Linked DNA regions of Homo sapiens: all the other regions are linked to region 6. Evidence: promoter capture Hi-C in 16 types of primary human blood cells and fetal thymus (Javierre and others, 2016). All regions are on one chromosome and are shown on one strand. Each heading gives the region's core, a stretch centred on a gene start or on the middle of the fragment in contact. The rest is flanking DNA. Distances are from core to core; before and after follow the strand shown.

Region 1 (3,605 bases), core at 441-2,940, 4.3 Mb before region 6:
TTGCTCTTCCCTGCCAGTGAATTTGCATCATTTCTGTGTGTGCTTTGTTTGACTGCCCTGACTCCAGTTCTGCTGAGACTGTCTGTGGGTGGTTTCCCTGTGCAGAGATGACAAGTGCAAAGGTCAGAAGCTTCCATGATTCATTTCCTCTTTGCTGCACGCAGTGGATGGTTTTCTGGGTGAGTCACTCAGATGCCAAACACAGGAGGGATTTTCTTCACATAGAGGCCCTGAGGCTCTGCTATGCCCTGAATTGGAGGAGGAACTGAGTTCTTAATATTTCCTGAAAAATTGTGTATTTTTTCCAATGATTTCATAAGCCCATTTGTATTCCCTTTCTTTGCATCTGATGACTCTGATTTGCGAATGCTGCGTACCCCTTGGAGAACATTTTGGTATCTTGTAGAGCTTCACTGAGTTCTGACTCAAGAGTAATTGGACTCTTTGAAATATACCCCAAAAGCCTGGATGCAGTAGCTCACACCTATAATCCCAGCGTTTTGGGAGGCCAGGCGGGAGGATTGCTTGAGGCCAGGAGTTTGAGACCAGCCTGGGCAACATAGTAAGACCCTGTCTCTCTCTAAAAAAAAAAAAAAAAAAATTACGTGTGTGTGTGTGTGTGTGTATTATGTTTGTGTGTATATATCTCAAGCATATTCCTGTATTAAAACATTCCCTGGTATGTTATCTATACAGGAGTATTAACAGCAGTCTACCTGTGGCTCTTCAAAAATCCACCCTCCTAGCCAGGCACAGCGGCTCATGCCTGTAATCCCAGCACTTTGTGAAGCCGAGGTGGGCAGATCACTTGAGGTTAGGAGTTCAAGACTAGCGTGGCCAGAGTGGTGAAACCCCATCTCTACTAGAAATACAAAAATTAGCCAGGCGTGGTGGCGGGCACTTGTAATCCCAGCTATTCGGGAGGCTGAGGCAGAGAATCTCTTGAATCCAGGAGGCAGAGATTGCAGTGAGTCGACATCGTGCCACTGGCCTCCAGCCTTGGGTGACAGAGTGAGACTCTGTCTTAAAAAAAAAAAAAAAAATACTACCCTCCTCTTCTTCTTCCAGAATAAAAATCTATGGGAGGAACAAGAACATCAACTGAGGATGATGGTAATGTTGCAATACCTAGGGCTGAAACCTACAGCAAAGTATTATTTTCTCAATGAAGAGAGGTTATTATTTTCTTTTTTTTAAACCTTTAAAAATTATGAAATAGAATATGCAAACAGAAGGCATAAGTGTATAGTACAATGAATAATTACAAAGTGAATACCCTCCATCAAGAAATGGAACATGGCCAGCCCAGACGTCCCTCCTTTGTTTACCTTCTAGACGTACCTCCCTTCTCCTGTCTTGAGGTATCCACTACCCTGATTTTTGTGGTAGTCATTTCCTTGCTTTTCTTACCACCTATGTATGCAAGGTTGTTATTTTGTAAAGCAGTATCAATTCCATCTTCTGCCGGTGGCACTATGTAATTCACTTGTATTAAGTAGCGACCACAGGATGACTTTGGGCTAGAGTGGTATATATCTATTCTCTCCCCACCCTAAAATTCCATAAAAATGCTTATCCATGTCTACTGTGTCATGAACTAATAATACTCCTGCTAAGACACATGTTTAAAGTAATGACAGTGAAGAGGTAAAATAAGCACGAAATTTTCAGTGGTCTGTCTCCTGTGCTCTGGGGTTCCTGAGCTGCAAATAGAGTTAAATGATCTGTGATGGGAATATAGAAATCCTCCCCGCCAACCCCCTGCCACCTCTTACTATCCCCTCTCTCTGATTTCCCTGGGAAATATCCCAGCAAGTTGTAAAATCTGCAGAACTTGGGCATGAAAAGGATCTATTTACAGGTCCTGAACTTTCCCCTTTTGGTTTCTTACTTTGAGAACATACAGGCTGTTTCAGCATATTTCTTTATCAGGGCAACTCACCCCAAAGATTATTTGATCTTCTTTAGTCTGACATGTTCTCTGCTGAGCTAGGAAAAGCAGCTGAGTGGAAATGGGACTTAAAATGTAATTCTTAACCATTTTTACTTCCTCGCCTTCCTTCTCTTCCTTGATTGGCTCAGGCAGGTTTGTAGAGGCAGAAAAGGAAATTAACGTTTATTACACCCCTATTTTGTGCCAGGCACTTTTGAGTCCATTATCTTATTAAATACAACACCAGGAGATACTTATTTTTTTTTGTTGGCTCCATTTTGTAATGGAGGCCACTGCATTTCAGAGCACTTAAGTAACTAAACATCATTATGTAGTTAGAAATGGCCATAATGAGGAACTAAACGGTCTAACTCCAAAGCCAAGTTCTCTTTCTTCTCTATCAAGCTGTCTCTTATTTCACTTGCCTGATGACCTTGGAGTGCCCTTGGCAACCACTTTTTAAAGGAGGGTCTATTTTTGTTAGGCAGAATGAAAAGTTATTGGGTTTATTAGCAGTAATGGGTTCAAGGTCTCAGAGTTTTCTTTTTTTTTTTTTGAGACAGGGTCTTGTTGTGTCACCCAGGTTGGAGTGCAGTAGCGCAATCACTGCTTACTATAGCTCCAACCTCTCGGCTCAAGTGATCCTCCTGCTTCAGCCTCCTGAGTAACTGGGATCACGCCCAGCTAATGTTTTTATAATTTTTAGTGGTGACGAGGTCTTGCTATGTGCCCAAGCTGGCCTGAAGCAATTGTCCCACCTCAGTCTCCCAAAATGCTGAGATTACAGGTATGAACCACCATGCTGGCCTCAGTTTTCTTCTTAAGAGCACTGGCTTAGGGCTGGGTGTGGGGTGTGGTGGCTCACACCTTTAATCCCAATGCTTTGGGAGGCCGAGGCAGGTGGATCATTTGAGGTCAGGAGTTCAAGTCCAGCCTGGCCAACATGGTGAAACCCTGTCTCTACTAAAAATACAAAAATCAGCTGGGCCTGGTGTTGCACACCTGTAATCCCAGCTACTCGGGTGGTTGAGACAGTAGAATCACTTGAACCTGGAAGGTGGAGGTTGCAGTGAGCCAAGATCATGCCACTGCACTTCAGCTTGGGCAACAGGGGGAAAAAAAAGCACTGGCTTAGGCTTCGGAGCCACCAGGATGAAAGGCTTCAGGTTATGGTAGTTTCATAAGGGATGGAGGAGGACCGTCAATCTTTGAAGCTCATGTTTGATCCAAGGCCACTTTCTGTGTTTCCTTACATCACAGGTCTGGCTGCCTCTGTGATCTGGTGCCCATAGTCTGTAGGAGACATTATAAGCTTACTGTAAGAAAGCCTAATTAGAAAACAAAGACAGCATGGAGGGGATTACCCTGGAAACATTCCTTGTGCTATAATGCTATTCACTGTGGAGTACAATTTGGTGAAATGCCCACCCCTCTTGCACCTTATCCAGGGAATGTTACTAAAGCAGCACAAGTACTTTGTTTTGTGTTGGTCTTTTGTGTAAGGCAGCTCTCCAGTGTGGTTCCTGTAGCCAGTGTTTCCCCAGAAGAGAGCATGTTAAATGCTTACGGGAAACAGTTTGGTCAGTTGAGGAGCAGGTGTCGGGAAAACAAATGAGGCAGGAATTTAATTTTGGAGTATGTCTGGAGGTGGTATTTACAGAGCACATGGAAG
Region 2 (3,264 bases), core at 729-3,228, 3.9 Mb before region 6:
GAAATAATGCCACATATCTACAACTATCTGATCTTTGACAAACCTGAGAAAAACAAGCAATGGGGAAAGGATTCCCTATTTAATAAATGGTGCTGGGAAAACTGGCTAGCCATATGTAGAAAGCTGAAACTGGATCCCTTCCTTACATCTTATACAAAAATTAATTCAAGATGGATTAAAGACTTAAATGTTAGACCTAAAACCATAAAAACCCTAGAAGAAAACCTAGGCAATAGCATTCAGGACATAGGCATGGGCAAGGACTTCATGTCTAAAACACCAAAAGCAATGGCAACAAAAGCCAAAATTGAGAGATGGGATCTAATTAAACTAAAGAGCTTCTGCACAGCCAAAGAAACTACCATCAGAGTGAACAGGCAACCTACAGAATGGGAGAAAATTTTTGCAATCTACTCATCTGACAAAGGGCTAATATCCAGAATCTACAATGAACTCCAACAAATTTACAAGAAAAAAACAAACAACCCCATCAAAAAGCGGGCGAAGGATATGAACAGACACTTCTCAAAAGAAGACATTTATGCAGCCAAAAGACACATGAAAAAATGCTCATCATCACTGACCATCAGAGAAATGCAAATGAAAACCACAGTGAGATACCATCTCACACCAGTTAGAATGGCGATCATTAAAAAGTCAGGAAACAACAGGTGCTGGAGAGGATGTGGAGAAATAGGAACACTTTTACACTGCTGGTGGGACTGTAAACTAGTTCAACCATTGTGGAAATCAGTGTGGCGATTCCTCAGGGATCTAGAACTAGAATTACTATTTGACCCAGCCATCCCATTACTGGGTATATACCCAAAGGATTATAAATCATGCTGCTATAAAGACACATGCACACGTATGTTTATTGCAGCACTATTGACAATAGCAAAGACTTGGAACCAGCCCAAATGTCCAACAATGATAGACTGGATTAAGAAAATGTGGCACATATACACCATGGAATACTATGCAGCCATAAAAAATGATGAGTTCATGTCCTTTGTAGGGACATGGATGAAGCTGGAAACCATCATTCTCAGCAAACTGTCGCAAAGACAAAAAACCAAACACCACATGTCCTCACTCATAGGTGGGAATTGAACAATGAGAACACATGGACACAGGAAGGGGAACATGACACATCAGGGCCTGTTGTGGGGTGGGGGAAGGGGGGAGGGATAGCATTAGGAGAGATACCTAATGTTTAAATGGCGAGTTAATGGGTGCAGCACACCAACATGGTACATGTATACATATGCAACAAACCTGCACATTGTACACATGTACCCTGAAACTTAAAGTATAATAAAAAAAGAAAATAAAAATGTGTCAACGTTATGTACTTGAGAAATCCTATCTAGATTATTAAAAAAGAAAATAAAGTTAGCAAGAAAGTAGATTACTGTGCAAAATTAATTTTTATCTCTGATAAATCAGTGTAGAAATGTTAAATAAAAATAAACCACATTTATTTGCCATTTTCCTGTTTGCTTTAATAAGAGATAATACACTCTCCAAAGACATTGTTAAATCTCATCCTTACTCTTTCTTTCCCCTCTACCCTCTGGTTACCGTGAGAATTAAGGTCTTTAATTCCAAAGGAGAGTTGTTGTGAGGACAATCTGTGCTTTCCCTGGGAAAATGAATAAGCAGGGTAAGAACAAGTAGAGCAGATTTCTCACAGGAAGATGATTGTGGCTGCATGTGGGTCTAGATTGCTTAAGAGGCTAAAGAGGAGAGAAGTCACAATCAAAAAGGGCATGCCTATAATCCCAGCACTTTAGAAAGCTGAGGTGGGTGGATCATCTCAGTTCAGGAGTTCAAGACCAGCCTGGCCAACATGGCAAAACCCCATCTCTACTAAAAATGCAAAAATTAGCCGGGCATGGTGGCAGGCGCCTGTAGTCCAGCTACTTGGGAGGGTGAGGCAGGAGAATTGCTTGAACCCAGGAGGTAGAGTTTGCAGTGAGCTGAGATGGCACCACTGCCCTCCAGCATTGGCAACAGAGCGAGACTCTGTCTCCAAAAGAAAAAGAAAGGCCTGCCTGTGGCTGTGACCCAAGGGCTTTCCAATCTAGATTCTAGATTTGTGCCAAGAAACCCTTTAGAGATGTCCATTTTTCTTTCCCCTTTTAGTGTCATTTAAGTACATATTCTATTTGCTTATTTATTTACATATTTATGTTCAGATTTCCTAGGATGTTAAAGAAAAATGATGTATATTGTGATTGATTTACAACTGTATTGCCATTTAATTGCCATACTTTGAAATGTCTCTATACTGAGAGGTAACATAGTCAACATTTAGATGACCATCTTTTCATACAGAAACACACAAACACACACACACACACACATACAGTTGTATGTAAATAGTATCATTTTATACATGCTATTTTATCATGGACATCTTCTTCTGTCTTTTTGCCTAGTTTCATCTTCTTTTCTAATCATCTTCATCTCTAAGTTAGCCAGTCTTAAAATCTTAATGTGTATCTGTCCCAATTTTTTTATTGTACAATCACATACAAACTCATGTATTCATATATTATATTCAGCACATAGAATATAACCAAGTATTTAGAACAGTGTCTTGAATGTCATAGATGCTCAGTAAATATTTGTTGAATAAATGAATGGTTTGCCTTAGAAAAATGAGATCATATTATATATACGTGTGTGTATGTGTATGTTTATATTACATATCTGGCTTTTATTGCTCAATATTCTATGTATTTTTTCATATAGATTTAATTCTTATAAATGGTTGTATAATAGCCCATGGTTATGAAAGTAATATCAATTTATTTAACTAGATCCCTAATTGATAGTTTAAATGCTTTTACTTTTTGCCAGTATAAACAATAATAGCTAACACCTATTAAGTGTTTATCATGTGCTAAGTTTTTTTTTTTTTTTTTTTGCGCTTTACATGTATTAAGCTACTGAGGGGTTAGGTTATTCTCCCCATTTTAGAAAACTGAGCAGGAGTAGGTAAGAAACGCCCCAGGCTATATAGCCAATAGGTGGCAAACTAGTCAGTATGGCTCCAAAGTATATTTCACTAAACTACTTTTATAGAAGGTAGTAATCAACACTATTGTAGAAACATTCTAATTGAATGGTCCTTTATTTCTATTCAATAGTTTATCTGGTGTGGAATTACTGCAGAACCATATGTGTGTATTTTATATTGCTAAATTGCTCTGCAAAAAGGCAGTAACAGTTTACATTTGCACTAGCCATGTATGA
Region 3 (3,345 bases), core at 194-2,693, 3.8 Mb before region 6:
GGGGTGTGACTGTAGAGAATGTTGAATAGGGTGTTTTGGCTTTGCTTCTACAGCTCTATGCACTTTTGTCAGCGGGTTTTATATTAGGCTTTGTGGTTTAAGATTCAAGCCAGTAGATAGCATTTATGGGTAAGAGCTGGCTGCAGCCAATGTAGGTGGGTATATACATGATCATTGTTTACCGGGAGAAACTCTTTGTTGCCTTAGGCAATAGGCTGATCGGCAGAGTGTACAGTGGTCTGAGCTCCCTGCTTAGTGTCTGGAAGTGGGGAAAGATGGGTGGTGCCAGAATGGGAAGGCCTGCCTACAGATTCCCCAATGGCAGGCACAAGAACCAGTGCTGAGGGAGAATCCAGGGAGCAGCCCCCAAGCACTTAGAGGTATCTCTAGGCTTGGAGCTGGGAAACCTCCTTGGCCCCAAGTTCTGTGTACCGAGAGGGGGTTGCAGCCTAAACTTCTAATCTAGGAGAGTGGGTGCTCCAGAGGCCTGGAGATATGCTTGGATGTGGTGTGTAGAGGTCCCCACTGCACCACAACCTCTTCACAGGAAGAACCGGGTGGCTTACCAGTCAGAATGGCTATTATTAAAAAGTGAAAAACAACAGATGCTAGTGAGGCTGTGGAGAAAAGGGAACACTTAATACATTGTTCAGCCACTGTGGAAAGCAGTTCGGTGATTTCTCAAAGACCTTAGAACTATAATTTCACCCAGCAATCCCATTACTGGATATATATCCAAAGGAAAATAAATCATTCTGCAAGAAAAGATACATGCACTAGTAAGTTAATCACAGCACTGTTCACAATAGCAGAAACATAGAATCAACCTGGGTGCCCATCAATGGTAGATTGGGTAAAGAAAATATAGTATGTATACATCACAGAATACTATGCAGCTATAAAAAAGAATGAAATCACATCCTTCAAAGCAACATGGATGCAGCTGGAAGCTATTATCCTAAGTGAATTAACATAGGAACAGAAAACCAAATACCACATGTTCTCACCTGTAAGTGGGAGCTAAGCATTCGGTACACATGGATATAAAGACGGGAACAATAGACACTGGGGAATACTAGAGTGGGGGAGAAAGAGAGAAGGGGGATGATTGAAAAACTACCTATTGAGTGCTATTCTCACTACTTGGATGACAGGATCATTCATACCCTAAATCTCAGCATCATACAATACACTCATGAAACAAACCTGCACATATACCCCTTGAATCTAAAAGTTGAAGTTATTTTTAAAAAGTATATTTGCTTTAAACAATCCTCTTCTGATACCAATTATCCTAAGATAATTATGATGGCTAAATTTTTAAAATTATTATAAATTCCAATAGGATATTCTTTCTTGTTGTGGGAAGTCAGGGAACCCAAATGGAGGGACCAGCTGAAGCCACGGCAGAATAACATAAATTGTGAAGATTTCATGGACATTTGTTAGTTCCCCAAATTAATACTTTTATAATTTCCTACATCTGTCTTTACTGCAATCTCTGGACATAAATTGTGAAGATTTCATGGACATTTATCACTTCCCCAATCAATACTCTTATAATTTCCTATGCCTGTCTTTAATCTCTTAATCCCATCATCTTTGTAAGCTGAAGATGTATGTCACCTCAGGACCCTGTGATGATTGTGTTATCTGCACAAATTGAAAAGCATGTGTGTTTGAACAATATGAAATCTGGGCACCTTGAAAAGAACAGGATAACAGTGATTTTCAGGGAACAAGGGAGATAACCATAAAGTCTGACTGCCTGCAGGCCAGGCAGAACAGAGTCATATTTCTCTTCTTCCAGAAAGTGAATAGGAGAAATATCGCTGAATTCTTTTCTCAGCAAGGAATAACCCTGGGAAAACGAATGCATTCCCAGGGAGAGGTCTCTAAAATGGCCGCTCTGGGAGTGTCTGTCTTATACAGTTGTAGATAAAGGATGAAATACACCCTGGTCTCCTGCAGCGCCCCCAGGCTTGTTAGGATTGGGAAATTCCAGCCTGGCGAAATTCTAGTCAGACCGGTTGTCTGCTCTGGGACCCTGTTTCCTGTTAAGATGTTTATCAATGACAATGTGTGCCCAGCGGGACATGGACCTTCATCAGTAATTCCAGTTTCACCCTGGCCTTGTGATCTCGCTCTGCCTCTCTGCCCTTGTGATACTTTATTGCCTTTGAAGCCTGTGATCTCTGTGACCCACTCCCTATTCATACGCCACTCCCCTTTTGAAATCCATAATAAAAACTTGCTGGTTTTGCAGGTCAGGGGCATCACAGAACCTTCCGACATGTGATGTCACCCCCGGAGACCCACCTGTAAAATTTCTTTCTTTTGTAGTCTCTTTATTTCTCAGACCAGCTGACACTTAGGGAAAATAGAAAAGAACCTACCTTGAAATATTGGGGGCTGGTTCCCATGATAATTTCTAAATAAACATGCAGAAATAAATAAAATTAATAGGTAATGCTGGTATGTATAAGTACTTACATGATTTTGAATAGCACTGCTAGATTTAGTCATTCATGAGTTAAACTTGTTAGGCATCTAAATTTGTCAGGCATCTGAGTGTTTATATTACAGGGGGGAAATACATGATGTAAATAGTCAAAGAGATAATGTAGGCCATATAGTGCGATAACATTGTATTAATGTTTATATTATTCAGCTAAACATTTTTAGCTTAATTTCACACTTCTGAGAAACATTATTTTGAAGTTGCTCAACTCAAAGGAAATGGTGGTTTCAACAGCAGTTTTGCTGTTTCCTTTGAACATTTTGATTGCCAATTTTTTTCTCCTGTTTTCTTTTTGCAGTTTCTTTGCTAAAATAGCTTTTAAAAAATGTCCTGTCATCAGTGGCTCCAATGACAGCTTTTTTTACATACTGAGAAAATTATTCAATTTTTAAAATTATACATACATACATTCAAATAAAAATAAATTGTAAGAAAATAATGTTTTAAAAAGTGTAATGTATTACCATTGCTATGAGTAAAATACCGTTGTTTATCTCTGACCTAGAGGTCTTGTATTTTCTTTCCTTGAAAGCGTTACTAACTTGTTAGCTTGCAATTAGGATAAAATCTTAGATCCTTTACAATTCTTAACATGAGGCTATCAGAATTGTTCTTTATTGTCATGTTTGTTTTCAAAATTCATTCAAGAATTTGTCCATTTCATCTAAATTGTTGAATTTATTAACAAAGTTATTCACCTTCTTATTCTTTAAATTTCTCTTGCACTTCTAGTGGTGTCCCTTGTTTTATTCCTGATATTAGTAATTTTTGTTTTTTTCTGTTTTTCTCTTGATCACTCTTACTAGGTGTTACTACTTTTATTA
Region 4 (3,538 bases), core at 197-2,696, 4.4 Mb before region 6:
TTTATCTTATGACTCCTAAAATATTTGTGGAATGTTTCCTGTTGCTAGTCACCCTCAGGTCTTGAAATTACCTGTGGAGTTGAAAAATGTTGAAGTGATTTGAATGTTTATACAGTTACTTGAGGAGGTAGCTGCCTAGATTTGTAGCCTGTGTAGGTGTTGGGAGAAATATTTTCTGAAAAGGTTGGTTGAGGGTAGTGGATCTATGGGCACTGGTGAGATCCTAATACGTGGAGTGATAAAAATTTGTTGCTGCCCTTCTGGGCAACTAGGTGAATGCAATTCACATAGCTCCAAATTAAACCATAAATAACAGTTTTTGACCTACCTAGGATATTAAGAACTTCAAACCACACAATGTTTTCTTGTGTGCTTCTTTTACTTAAGGATTTAACTTGGAGAAGATTTTAGAGTTTGTAATAACTTTTCATGAAAGGATAGGGAGAAAAAAGGAGCAGGATCTTTAATAAGTAGATGTACTTCTGCATCCAGCAATCCGGCTTTTAATTCAAAATTGTGTATGTGCTCTGGGTGATGCCAACATTTCCTCTTACATAAAGTGACCTTTTACGGGGTTTCATTCATAGCACTTGGCTCCCTCCTGGAGTCACAGTGCTTGTCACAAGGCAGTGGATTGCCTGCTGGTTCTTATGCAAGTGATGACTGGGAGGGCTGATAGGGGGTAACGCGGACAGCCTCTCTCTCTGACAGCAGATTGTCAGCATTCTTGACCCGGGCACTCTAAGAGCCTGGGAAAACACTTTGATTTCAATGTGGCTTTAAAAAATGATATTCAGTTGAACCAAATGACTGTGTAAAATAGGACCACAGGGCAGGCCAGGAGCGGTGGCTCATGCCTGTAATCCCAGCACTTTGGGATGCCAAGGTGGGCGGATCACCTGAGGTGAGGAGTTCAAGACCAGCCTGGCCAACATGGTGAAACCCCTTCTCTACTAAAAATACAAAAAATTAGCTGGGCTTGGTGGCAGGCGCCTGTAATCCCAGCTACTCGGGAGGCTGAGACAGGAGAATTGCTTGAACCCAGGAGGCGGAGATTGCGGTGAGCCAAGATCACGCCATTGCACTCTAGCCTGGGCAACAAGAGTGAAACTCCGTCTCAAAAAAAAAACACCCTGTTGTTACAGATAAATCAAAATAAGTGTATTAAGATAAAGATTTACTTCTCTTTTATGTAAAAGTAACCTAGATGTGGGTGGCCCAGGGTGGGTAAGGTGACTTTAGTTTGTCACAGATCCGGGTTCCTTCTTTCTTTTCTCTTCTACCACCCTTGGTACAGGACTTCTAGCCTCATGATTCAAGATGGCTGCTGGAGTTCCAGCTACCATATTCGAGCTCTAGAACAGGAAGAAAGAAAATTAGGGAAACAGCAGCTCACTGCAGCCTCAACCTCCTGGGCTCAGGTGATCCCCCTGCCTCAGCCTCCTGAGAAGCTGGGATCACAGGCACGCACCACCACACTCAACTAATTTTTAAATTATTTGTAGAGACAGGGTCTCCCTATGTTGCCCAGACTTGTCTCGAACTCCTGGACTTAAGTGATTCTCTCAACTTGGCCTCCCATAGTGCTGGGATTACAAGTTTGAGCTACCATATCCAGCCTAGAAAAATTTTGGAATCCCAATATGGTGACTTCCACTTAACACCACATTTGCTATCCAGGGTTGCAAAGGAGGGCTAGAAATGTACTGGCCAAATTGCCATCCCAAATAAAATTAGGGTTCTGTCAGCAAAGAAGGAGGGGAGAATGGTTATTGGAAAGGAAACTAGCAGCCTCTATTATAGGTCTTATTAGCCTCTACTTAATAGATAAGAAATTGAGGATTGGGGAACTGAAGAAACTTGCCAAATAAACAGCAGGATGAGAATTGTTATCTGGGTATTTAACTCCACTGCCTTTGCGCTTAAACGCTATGCAAACTGTGGCTGTGTGCTAGCACTAAAATACGATGCAGACCTCTCTCAGAGATGGGAATGCTCTTAAAGACATTAATTTAGAGTATTTTAGGTATTCTTTTTTTTTTTTTTTTTTTTTTGAGACGGAGTCTTGCACTCTCACCCAGGCTGGAGTGCAGTGGCGTGATCTCGGCTCACTGCAAGCTCTGCCTCCCGGGTTCACGCCATTCTCCTGCCTCAGCCTCCCGAGTAGCTGGGACTACAGGCGCCCACCACCACACCCAGCTAATTTTTTTTGTATTTTTAGTAGAGAAGGGGTTTCACCATGTTAACCAGGATGGTCTCGATCTCCTGACTTCGTGATCCGCCCGCCTCGGCCTCCCCAAGTGCTGGGATTACAGGCGTGAGCCACCGCGCCCGGCTATTTTAGGTATTCTTATAATTCTTACTAAGGTTTACACTTTCCTTTCTCATATGGTACTGTTGTAATGATTTTCAATTGGTCCTTCGTTACATCTGAACAATTTAAATAGAACAAAACTAAATTTCAAAACAGAAATACGTAGTTGCTTTCAGTGCCTTCCTGTCAGAGTCATATTGACATGGTAAAGATATAAGAAAGATCGAAGGTTCTTAGCGGAAACTGGAGCAATAAAGCCAGAGACACCATCAGTGGTGCTTGCTGGTTTTGCAGAAGCTAGCTCCCTTAGAGACGTCATGTCCAGCACCAATCACAGAGTCTATCAAAAGATCCAAATCAAGAAAACAGGAGAAGAATCTCAGGCTTTTCATTCATGCTCAACAAGAGGAGCATGCTTTTACACTATCCCGGGAGATTCCTCAAGGGTCAACAAAGAGTAGTAGAAAGAATCCTAGATTCTAGACTTGGCTTTGCCGTTAACAAGTTGTGTGACCCTGAGCACATGATTTTGCGTCTCTGGACTTTAGTTTCTTTGTCTTTAGAGTAAAGATATTCTTCAATTGCCCTGTTTCAGTTGTAATAGTTTACAAGTAGTGATTTCTGTACTCATTTGCCTTTCTTTGGAAAGACTACAACTTTGAATTTGAAGGACCTGGATATGACTCAGTGCTGACTCTCTTAAGCTGTGTAACTTTGCACAAGTCACCTAACATTTTTGAATCTTAGTTTTCTTACCTGTAAAATAGGTATAATAAATCCTGTCTCATGGAGCTAGTGTGACGATTAAAATAATGAGATGTGAGAGAACTTTGTCTCCATTCAGACAAAACATCTAGAAAGTGCTTGTCTCCACTGTCTGCTAAAGAGCATCCCCATTTCATGACCCTTCCTTCCTTCTTTCCTTCCTTCCTTCTTTCCTTCCTTCCTTCTTTCCTTCCTTCCTTCCTCCTTCCCTTCCCTTTTCTTTCTTTCTTTCTTTCTTTCTTTCTTTCTTTCTTTCTTTCTTTCTTTCTTTCTTTCTTTCTTTCTTTCTTTCTTCCTGTCTCTTTCTTTCTCTCTCTCTCTCTCTCTTTCTTTCTTTCTTCCTTTCTCTTTCTTTCTTTCTCTCTCTCTCTCTCTCTCTCTCTCTCTCTCTTTCTTTCTTTCTTTCTTTCTTTCTTTCTTCTTCAGGTTCTTACTGGGGTACAGTGGCACGAACATGGC
Region 5 (3,258 bases), core at 30-2,529, 4.4 Mb before region 6:
AACTCTGGAGGTGGAGGTTGCAGTGAGCCCACAAGAATTGACTGAACTCGGGAGGTGGAGGTTGCAGTGAGCCGAGATAGTGCCACTGCACTCCAACCTGAGCAACAGAATGAAACTGTCTGTGTGTGTGTGTGTGTGTATGTATATGTATGTGTATGTATATTTACTCTCAGGTGGAACTGGATTATAACAGTCTCAATCCTCACTGCCTTCATGAATAGCTGAGGAGGAGGGGGGTCTTGCTGTCACAGGGGTAGTAGAGACAGAAGTAAACCTGTAAGTGGACCCTCTTAGTTCAAATTTGATATTCAAGAGTCAACTTAGTTGTTTTTTAAAGTCAAGGGAAGGCATATCAATAGTTGCAGTTACCTAGTACTGCATAACAAAACAACCTCCAAAACTTAATGGCTTAAAACAAGCAAAATTTTTCTGACTGGGCTTAGTTTGTTGCAGTCGTTTTCCAAAATGACCAAAGACATCAAAGCTTAAATTACATATTGTATGCCTGTTCAGGGAGAAAAACATATGCTTTTCCCCATCATTTTGGAATCTTTTACTTGAATTATAGCTGGACAATTGATTTCCAGCTATAATTCAAGCTATAACGTAGTGAACTCCCTCAGACAAAAATGTCAAGCTTGATTAGTAAAGGAACCTCAAGTGGTATGTATAAGGTGACCCTTAAGTACACGTGTTTTCAAAAGTTGGGTATAATGTAACTAGACTGAGAGGTTTCGAGAAAAACTTCATTGCTATTCCATGTATAGTTTTAAACTAGTGGGATTTCAGTTTACAGTATTAATCAGCAATTTGGGGAGAACTAAGTGTTCGTTTAACATTAAGATAATAAAAATAATGCCTTAATCATACTTGATTGAGAATATTAATTCCCTTTTTATGCATAAGGATGGAAGTTAAGTAACTTTAACAATGACACAGTTGAGTTGTGTTGGAGCCAGCATTTGGATGGCCCTACACTTTGCACTGCCTTGTAGATATTTCTGTCACACAACTAGTGGTTAAATAAGCATGTTCTTTAGGCTAGAGCTTTCAGAGATGAAATATTTTAGAGACCAGAGTTAATCTAGATTTCATTTTAAACAATATTCAGATAATCTTTCCTTTTTCTCTCCCCTGCCCTGAAGAGTTTGTATTTATTATAATGTTGTATAACACAGCCCCAATACAATGTGGCTTATATAGGTTTTTCTCTTAGGCTTAGACAGACTCTGGGACTGATATGGGAGCTTCATGGTTCTCAGGCAGACTTTCATTCTACTTTTTGTCTTTGGCAAGTTGGTTTATTATCAAGTGGTTGCTGGGGCTCTATACATCATGTCCAGGTTCAAGGTACAGGATGGGCTGAAGGAGGCTAAAGGCTACTGGCATCCAACCTCTCCTGTAAAAAGAAGAACCTATGGTTTATGCTCACAGTGCTAAAAGTAGGATAGTAAATAAAATAGAGCTGGGTGTGAATGCCAAGGGAGGTTAGGATGACAGCCACATTGGCCACATATGTCGAAATAAGTTGATTTAGAAAAGGATTATTTGATCAAGGATATCCTGGAACATAAAGCAAATAACTACATTTTAGAAATAAGTGAACAGGGCTAAGAAAAGTAATTTTCTTTAAATACGGCCCAAAAGGATTAATTATGATTGGAGTCCTGCTTTGCCCAAGGCTTTTTATTTCATTTTGCATGATAACCTTTCTCAGAACCATGCATGCACAAATTAGGTTGAGACAATGACTTAAAAGTGTAAATGAAATCTCATTAGAAACAAAAACTTTCTGGTTTCTGACATGTTTAAGGGGTGCTCATTGTTACTCAACAATGATTTACTTAGGTAGTTATTGTGATGGGGGCGGTTCTAATGGGATTTCTTTTTCTGGTAGGTTTAGTGGCAACATACAAGCTTGCCATAAACATTTCCTGGGTTTTATCTTCTTGTAAAAGTGTTATTCCACCTTTCTGAGTCTGGCTACCCCACAGAATTCTTTTATCCCTTTTACTCTTAGATTACCTTGTCTGTAATGAAACTTACCCTCTCTGAAGCCTGAGTTGTTCTTCTAAAGTAACACCACTACCACCTTCTTTATTCTCATGTTTTTGGGAGGAATTGTCTACACTCACTGCTATATGTCCTCTATCACCTAAGAAAGGTATTTGCCCATTACTGGATTTTTTTTTCTTACAGAGATCAATAGTGATCAAATTGAACAGCCTATGTCCTCAGGCTGTGTGTTTTGTGGCAATGGAAAAATGACAGCAAAAGAGGGAAATATCCTTGGAATTTAGTTCCTTAAATGGAGGTATTTGCCCAAGTGACTGTCAGTTACATATTTGAGTTGCAAACAACGGGTTGCATTTACCGGGTTTCAGAGTAGAAGCATACTTAGGAAAGGTGGTAGGTGTTCTTGGGCTCTTCAGTGGGGACAGAGGATTGCTTCCACTCTTAGTTACTGGGGTATCTTGTCACCCCAGAGACCCAGAGCCAGAATATCAACACTTTTGAGTGATTGCAGTTTTGTGACAACATAATACTGGTTCTCTCAGCCTCCTTCATTGGATTACCTTCCTCTCTGCTCCATTTCATCCAGTTCCATATTTTCGTTTGTCACTTCAAAGCTAATATTACCATAACAAGTTTACAAATAATCAGACTTCCTGGTTACTTGTTAATACTCAATAAGATAGCCTGCTTGCCCATTTTGAATAATATCAATACATTTCCAGACAAAACATTAGTCATTTCCCCTCAGTTTAAGTGCTGTCAATCAGCTCTCCGTTAGGTACAATGGCGAAAACACTCATCCAGGATCTTGGATATTTAGTGAAGTAGACGTGAAAATTGGATAACTACTCATCAGAGTTTGAAGTGATTAGGAAGGAATTAACTCAGCCAGAGGAAATCTGGGATTTGAATAGGGCTTTGAAGAATGAAAGGTTTACAGAGGATTTGGGAAGGTAAATTGGAGGCTGCGAGGACAAGGAGATGTATGACTGGCACTCGCTCAAGGTTGAGTGGAACGAGTCAAAATAAGTAGGACCCATTCTGTGGAGGGCTTGTCATGCAAGGGTAAGGAATTGGAATGTATACAATTGGAGGCGAATAGAAGTTTTCTGTCATGTTTTAAGAGTAAAACTGAAGGCCATGTGTATGAGTATGGATCAGGTGATTGGGCCACCCAAGAACTTAGATGAGAGAACTGAATTAGGCTGCTGGCAGAACAGAAAGGACGGAGACAGCTGATGG
Region 6 (3,624 bases), core at 1,123-3,622:
TTATTGGTGTCTGGACTCCCCTCTCTCATCTATCCAATCAAATTACTAAATTCAGTAGTTTCTCCTTGAACATTTCTCCAATCTGTCCCCTCCTCTCCATTTCTACTCTAATATCACCCTAGTCTAGAAATTTGGGTGGACTTTCCTTGTTTTATTTACTACAGCTTCCTAACTAGTTTTTCTCTGTCAGCTCACACATTCCCTAATTCAATGCTGATTGTGCCAGCAACTGAGTAAAGGGTTTAGTTTAGTTGACATTGTAGCAAGATTTCCCTGTGAAGGAAAAAAATAGGTAAATTAATATTCTGTAATAAGTTCCTTTCTCATCAAGTTCATTCCCGATGATGCTTGACCAGCACTTTCAGTAACACTACGATTCTCTACACTGCAGCCAGAGGACTTTTCAATATGCAAATCTAATCGTGCCATTCTTTTTTAAACCCTCCATGGTTTCTCAAGTACTCTTAGGATAAAACAGAAAATACTTAAGTAGCACACAGGACCCAATCTGTCATCCTTTGGTCTCATTTGAAATGTCACATCCTTTGAAAAAGTGTTCTTTGACTTTCCAAGACTAAGTTAGGTCTCTGAATGTTTCTTCTGTGGCACTTAATTATTTATGTCTTTCTCCACCATTAAATTCTAAATTCCAGGAGGGTTAGAACTTTCTGGATCCTTAGCACAATGTCAGGTAATTAGGAACTCCGTACATATTTGATGGATGAATGAACAAAGCACTACATATGCATGAACTAGTTTAAAAACAGAAACATCACAAGATTTTTTTTAAGTGGCAGCTTTTAATAAAAGTACAGTTCGTAATAGGTAGGGAAAAAGGTCAAGGATATAATTTCTACATACTAACATATACGTTGTTAGGTATATAAAATATATAAAATCAGGACTGGTGTCACTTAACTTTTTAATGTGTCTTTTCTTCGGGCACGTGGCAGGCACTTGCAGAGAAGGTAAACATTTACAGAGTACCTGTTATTTTCCAGGCATTGTTCAAAGTGCTTTCAAGAGTTCTGGTTTGACAGAACTAAAGAATTTTGATTTTTCTTCCAGCAAACAAAAGAAAACCTAGGTTCTTTTTATTACTCTATTCTAGTAAGAACAGAAAGGTTATCTTTTGCACTTTAATTAACATCGCTTAATTCCATGGCTATCAAAGATGACTCAATTCCTCCGCAGAATTACTATGTGACTATTAGAAATCTAAATGCCTCCCATGTCAATTCATCTAGTGAGAATTTCCTAATTTTAACGGGAACACAGCAGGCTTTTACGGTGATTGCTGATTGGGAAGATCTCTTTCTCCCTTACGGCGTCATTCATGTCAAGGCCCGGTCTAACAGAGGAATAAAACAGTAGAAAATTACGATATCCTCCTGTTACTTTTTTTTACTAAGGGGTAATGACCAAACAGTACTTGGATTTCTTTTAGAAAATGAGTAAAGCTTCCCCGAAAGCAGAGAACAATTGGGCAGATTTGAGAAACACAAAGGACATACGATGCTTCCCTGCTACCAGCTGGGAAAGTTATTAGAATTAGCAGAATCCTCCTGTTCCTTCCACACAAGCGATAGCCACAATAGGAACTCCAGTTTCCGTCACCCCCACTCCCTGCCCAGGTTACCTGTGGAAGCTGATGTTAATGTGCTTGTTGTAGGTAGTGGCACAGCCCGCCGCAGCGCAATTGGTCGGCATTTCCCTTTCCCACTCATTCAGCGCCCTTAGGTCTCTACTGAGGCGCTGGCTGCTAAGCTTTCTTCTGGCAGAGGCTGGACAATCGAGGCAGGCGTGCCTTAATCGTGAGAGCTTAGTCGTGAGAGCGGAGTGGGAAGAAGGGGTGTGTATGTGGGGGCGGAGGCGAAGGACGGTCAGCCTTCCCTTTCTCTTTATTAATATGGCCGACTAGAGCCCACAGAACTGGCCCTCCTGGAGCTCTAGTCGCCTTCGCTTGACTTCACCAACATGGCGGACACAACCCGTTCTTTCTCCCCGCCCCCAAGAGGGAGCGGATCTACTGCGTTTCTTTGGCAGCGGTCCTCAGAGCAATTAAAAGGAAGAGGTGTTTTCCCCTCCGATTACTATAAATTACAAGAGTTTTACAATAAAACTCTCTCAAGGCTGCAACAGCAGCTCCACCTACTTCTGCATGCACCCAACTGTACCAAGCCAGACCCTGCGGTGGGTGTGACCCTAGGACCGGAAGAGTAAACCCGAAGAAAGACGAAAGACTACAAATCCTAGTGAGTATCGAGTTGGTCTTATTATCGCGTGAACTGGGAGCCTTTGTTTCCTGCGTGTCGCAGGAAGTGACGTTTCGGGTACAGCCGCTACCAGAGTCCCTTTCTCGCGAGGCGGAAGAACCCCGATCGCTGAGGAGCAAGGGGGCGCTAGGAAAGGGAACTGGGTTGCGACGGTCCGGCGAGAGAGAGCTGGGGTGCTGGGGTGCGGGGAAGTTGGGGAGCAGAGGCCGCTTGGTGTCCGAGTAGGGTAAGACCGCACCGACCCAGTCCGTTAGGAAAGAAGGGAAACGAGGCAATTGTCGGGCGGATCCCCGGACGGAGGGCTAAGGTTGTGTGGAAGGCGCTGCTCCCCGGATGGCGACCGCAGATACTCCGGCCCCGGCCTCCAGTGGCCTCTCGCCGAAGGAAGAAGGGGAGCTTGAAGATGGGGAAATCAGTGACGACGATAATAACAGCCAGATACGGAGTCGGAGCAGCAGCAGCAGCAGCGGCGGCGGGCTGTTACCCTATCCGCGGCGAAGGCCTCCTCACTCGGCCCGGGGCGGTGGATCTGGCGGAGGCGGTGGCTCTTCCTCGTCATCGTCCTCTTCTCAGCAGCAGCTGAGGAATTTCTCACGCTCGCGGCACGCGTCTGAGCGGGGCCACCTCAGGGGACCCAGCAGCTACCGACCCAAAGAACCGTTCCGGTCTCATCCGCCTTCTGTACGGATGCCTTCGAGCTCACTGTCCGAAAGCAGTCCCCGGCCGTCTTTCTGGGAGCGGAGCCACCTCGCCTTGGACCGTTTCCGCTTTCGAGGCAGGCCTTACCGGGGTGGGAGTCGCTGGAGTCGGGGGCGAGGAGTGGGTGAGCGAGGAGGCAAGCCGGGGTGCAGACCTCCTCTGGGAGGAGGAGCAGGATCCGGGTTCAGCAGCAGTCAGAGCTGGCGAGAGCCCTCTCCACCTCGGAAGAGCTGTATCCTTAACGTGGCGGTCGGCGCTGGGTGTGTCACTAAAGTTCCCTTTAGCGTCATTACTAGGTCTGTGAGACGAGTGTAACTTTGAATCATCAGAACCGCTTATTTCTCCCTGTGTCAGTATACTTTAAGTTGTTCTTTGGTAATTCCCCATGTGTCACACTATAGCGTTATTCTTAAGACTGCTTCATTGGGTATATTAACGTGCTGTGGATTGGGTTAAGCTTATGAAATCTAAGACAGTTAAGTCTGATTTGTAATAATACCTTAGAAGCCCAAGTTTCATTAGCATTTGTATTTTTGCTGGTACAGAAACTTTGTGTTTTATATGAAGTTGACTTGGATTGTTAGAGAAAAAATATTCATAAACAGTTTAAGTAATATTGTTGCTTTATCATATTGCAGTTTGACGTTGA
Region 7 (3,376 bases), core at 171-2,670, 4.0 Mb after region 6:
TTCATTTCAAGCAATGAGGACTTTTTAAATTCCCTGAAGAACCTGAGGAAATTTTGATTTATCACTGATGAGACCAAACAAGAACCCTACTCACCTTTTGAAACTAATCTTGTGAAAAGACTAAGCCAGAAAATATAAATGCCTTCCCTACATTTAAAATACCATAACTCTGACTTTTTCAGAGGTCATCCAAATGTTAACATCAACGATCCAGAACACAGCTGAAGAGCAGAAGGGACTTTTTAAAGACTTGTAGATAAACACAATTGGTGTCACAAAATCCATGCATTGCAATCCATGAATTTTATTAATGAAAGAATCATCCATTCTTTTACTCAAAAACAATCCATAGCATGGTACAGTGGTCAGATGGCCTGAATACAGATTGTGTCTCCCCTACTTACTAATTATATGAACTTGGCAAGTTTCTCAAGCTCTTTGTGTCAGTTCTCTCACCTGTAAAATAGTATTTTCATTGTAGGGTTCATAGAGGATTAAATCAGATTACCTATTTAAAATTCACAGAACAGAACCTAGCACACAGAAAATGCACAAGTATGAGCTATTATTCTTTGATACACCTTCCTATTAAGCTTAGAAATCTGGTTTCTCAGGCCATTGCATGTTAGAGTTAGCAAATTAAGAAAGGTGGGAGGGTGATAGTAAAAGATCCACTGACTATTTTCAGTAAGGAAAGAGACAGAAAAATTGTCAAAAGCAAGCAAAGGATCTAAAAAGCATAGCTGCTTTAAGCCGTAGAGCACTGAAGTAAGATGCTCTAGACCAACAATAATCCTAAAGTGTTAATGCAACAGATGTGATGGATGATCTTTTGCAGTGATTAAGAAATAGTTCAGTTTTGCTCTTTATACTTAACTCTAATTTGTGAAGCAAGAAAGAGTGCAGTAATTTTATAAGTATCTTAATTAAAATACTTAAAACAATTTGGTTGCTTCTAAGGAGCATGTTTTAGTTATATTGAAAGTCTACTTCTTGGCATTTAACCTGCAGACTTAATGTGCCTGAATTAGGTAAGAAACCATTAATAACTTCAACAATACATGCATGTGTGAGCCTTTTAGTATGATAGAATATAAATGATTTTGAAATGTCAAATGATAATATATACAATAGTCTGACACTAGAGTCACAAATCCATCTGAAGATGTTGTACTCATTTAAACTTGTATTTATTACATCTAAGATGTATGCCTAACCCTGCACCAGGCATTGCAAAGAGGCACAAAAGATGTTTAAAATAAACTCCCTCTCCTCAACGAGCCCATCAGCCCATCCGGGCAATGAACACTGAACTCCACAGTGCTTTGTTTCCCTGGCTGCCTCCTGTGTTTATCCAAAGTGATTTGAAGGCTGTCTGAACTCTTGCTCTAGGCAGAATTGAGTGACACTCTGACACTTCCAGTTCATACTGTTTCCAGACTTCCGGAGCTTCTGCCATTACTTTATAGTCTTGCCCTGTTGGCTCCCTGCTCCTGCTGGGGGAACAAAAAGTCATTTTCCTGCCTTAACCATTAGCTGGTAAGGGTTTTAAGATATTACCCCCACTCTAGGAATGTCTATTCTCTCAATTAATTTAGAGGAGAAAAATGAAGACCCTCTCTCCTCCAAATCTATAGGTATAGGTAGAAATAAAGCCACCACAGGGCAAAAGATTCTTAGGAAATTTCCCTGGAAGATAGAACATTTCTCAGATTCCTCTCAAATCACAGTGCTTGAAGCATGGTCCAGAGGCCTGCTTAGGCTATGAGAATGAATCGAGTTTAAGCATTCCTTCAAATCTATCCAATTGTCTGGTATTCTTGCTTTTCAATGAAGATTTCCAGATAGAATGATGGAGAAAATGAGTTACTGGGAAAGACTATGAAATAGCCTTAGTCATAATGAAAATCTCTCCTTCCACTTGTTCATTTCAGTCAGAACCAGTCGTTTTCCATCAGCTTATATGATTTCTGAAACCCAACATCCTTCAGAGGAATATTCCAGGAGAATCTTATAAAATGTCAACCTATTTCAGAAGCAGCAGAGCGTAACTCTACCTTATTCCACATCATATTTAGTTTAATGGTGACTTAACTTTCAGAAGATTTATGCAAAAGTAGTAATAAAAGTTGACAACTTTCATTTGTAAAAATTCTGAAAAGGAAAGGAATTATTTTTATTCTATTATTTTGCTTTTCCTCTGCTAGTATTTGAATAACATGATTTCATACTGCAACAGAAGCTTCAGGTCATAAAAAAATGGTTTCTTCTGTTTCTTCTGTGTAGGGGAAATCATTGTCATAACTATGTAGGGATTTAATGGCTCAGTTTACTCAATAATTAAAACTGTTTGTATGTAAATGGCAAAGTTAGAAGTTGCAAAGTTAGAAATTACAGATCAAAAGCAGCCTGCAGATATGTTTTGTTTGGCTTCCACAGTGTTTTTTGAAAATGTGAACTAAATGCCAACATTTAAAAATCAGGAGATTTCATGTAAATATCCAGATTTCTGGCTTTTCTGGAAATAAGGCAAAATCTGTCTGCACTGTGCTTCCTCCTAGTCCTACTTGGCAACGGAGAACATCCCCCACCTTTTGTAGCTTCAGCCCTCCCCACTTCCCACCAGTGCCTGCCCTGCAGGTCACCGCAGTCCCCACCACTTCCTGTTATTGTGTGTGTGCTAGGCTGGCTTTACCCATTGACATTACCACCTTTCTCCAGCAGGCATTTAGATTTTTAATTTTACTGTAAGCTTTGTATTTCCTGAGATTTTCTCACCGCCATTTCTCTGTTGCTACAAATGTATCCTGACATTTCTTTCTTTTCATTTCTTATGCTCCATTTCTTGGTGCTACTGCTGAGACTAACAGAGGTCAATTGTAATTTGGGCATTCACGCTGAAGCCTTTCAAACTAGTTTGTGCATAAATACATACCTGGCACAAGAAACATTGTTTTCTCTTGTGCTTGAAAATCAAACCGATTTATACTTAGCACCGAAGAGTGCGAAGACCCTAAAACCACTGCCTGTGTAATAGCTCACTGCAGTAAAATCTTTGGTTTTACTCTTTGGTAACCTCTTGCAGCTTTTCTAGACAGAGTTAGCTCTATTTTGGGACTCTTTTTCTACATCAGAAGCACACAACTGATATCTTACTGTTACTAGTTTGCTTTTCCTGAAAGCAGTGTTGAGGTTCTGAACTTCTTGTAGAAGTTCATAAACATGGTTTGCACCAAGAAACAATTCAAATGTCTCATTACTACAGAAACACTCAGCTATAAGTAATATATTCAGAACAGAGATGATGCTTAAAGCAAACTCTTTCTTTGATATACTTTAAATATTTGTACCCTCTAAATTTTATGTTATAATTTGT

Evidence for each region. The method cuts DNA at HindIII sites, captures the fragments that hold promoters and counts their contacts. A CHiCAGO score of 5 or more calls a contact.
Region 1: a contact is called between a fragment that was not itself captured here and the fragment with the promoter of ZFC3H1 in region 6, in 2 of 17 cell types (activated CD4 T cells and monocytes). The highest score is 10.4, in activated CD4 T cells.
Region 2: a contact is called between a fragment that was not itself captured here and the fragment with the promoter of ZFC3H1 in region 6, in 2 of 17 cell types (naive CD8 T cells and total CD8 T cells). The highest score is 8.9, in naive CD8 T cells.
Region 3: a contact is called between a fragment that was not itself captured here and the fragment with the promoter of ZFC3H1 in region 6, in 1 of 17 cell types (total CD8 T cells). The highest score is 5.3, in total CD8 T cells.
Region 4: a fragment that was not itself captured here is called in contact with the fragment with the promoter of ZFC3H1 in region 6 in 2 of 17 cell types (naive CD8 T cells and activated CD4 T cells); the score reaches 10.4 in naive CD8 T cells.
Region 5: a contact is called between a fragment that was not itself captured here and the fragment with the promoter of ZFC3H1 in region 6, in 3 of 17 cell types (total CD4 T cells, total B cells and activated CD4 T cells). The highest score is 7.2, in total CD4 T cells.
Region 7: a contact is called between a fragment that was not itself captured here and the fragment with the promoter of ZFC3H1 in region 6, in 2 of 17 cell types (fetal thymus and activated CD4 T cells). The highest score is 5.8, in fetal thymus.

The regions. Positions count from the first base shown.
Region 1 is chr12:75,974,634-75,978,238 of GRCh38, reverse strand. No RefSeq gene overlaps it. Among named protein-coding and RNA genes, the nearest start is that of PHLDA1-AS1, 54 kb to the left of the region's middle. RefSeq lists enhancers at 1-37, 47-191, 68-237, 1-765 and a cis regulatory region at 113-126. The HindIII fragment of the contact is 3,115 bases long and covers 133-3,247 here.
Region 2 is chr12:75,515,498-75,518,761 of GRCh38, reverse strand. No RefSeq gene overlaps it. Among named protein-coding and RNA genes, the nearest start is that of KRR1, 5.5 kb to the right of the region's middle. The HindIII fragment of the contact is 6,037 bases long and covers 1-3,264 here.
Region 3 is chr12:75,456,748-75,460,092 of GRCh38, reverse strand. No RefSeq gene overlaps it. Among named protein-coding and RNA genes, the nearest start is that of GLIPR1, 22 kb to the left of the region's middle. The HindIII fragment of the contact is 4,775 bases long and covers 1-3,345 here.
Region 4 is chr12:76,015,437-76,018,974 of GRCh38, reverse strand. No RefSeq gene overlaps it. Among named protein-coding and RNA genes, the nearest start is that of PHLDA1-AS1, 13 kb to the left of the region's middle. The HindIII fragment of the contact is 6,475 bases long and covers 1-3,538 here.
Region 5 is chr12:76,037,400-76,040,657 of GRCh38, reverse strand. It overlaps NAP1L1 (nucleosome assembly protein 1 like 1), which reads left to right. Exons shown (of 15, transcript NM_004537.7): 15 at 1-3,258. Among named protein-coding and RNA genes, the nearest start is that of PHLDA1-DT, 7.2 kb to the right of the region's middle. The HindIII fragment of the contact is 1,280 bases long and covers 640-1,919 here.
Region 6 is chr12:71,662,596-71,666,219 of GRCh38, reverse strand. It overlaps ZFC3H1 (zinc finger C3H1-type containing), which reads left to right and starts at 2,372. Exons shown (of 35, transcript NM_144982.5): 1 at 2,372-3,207. The coding sequence starts at 2,610. THAP2 (THAP domain containing 2) reads right to left here and starts at 1,919. Exons shown (of 3, transcript NM_031435.4): 1 at 1,640-1,919. The coding sequence starts at 1,710. RefSeq lists enhancers at 1,910-2,269, 1,719-2,277, 2,630-2,749. The HindIII fragment of the contact is 1,665 bases long and covers 1,770-3,434 here.
Region 7 is chr12:67,630,200-67,633,575 of GRCh38, reverse strand. No RefSeq gene overlaps it. Among named protein-coding and RNA genes, the nearest start is that of DYRK2, 17 kb to the left of the region's middle. The HindIII fragment of the contact is 1,649 bases long and covers 596-2,244 here.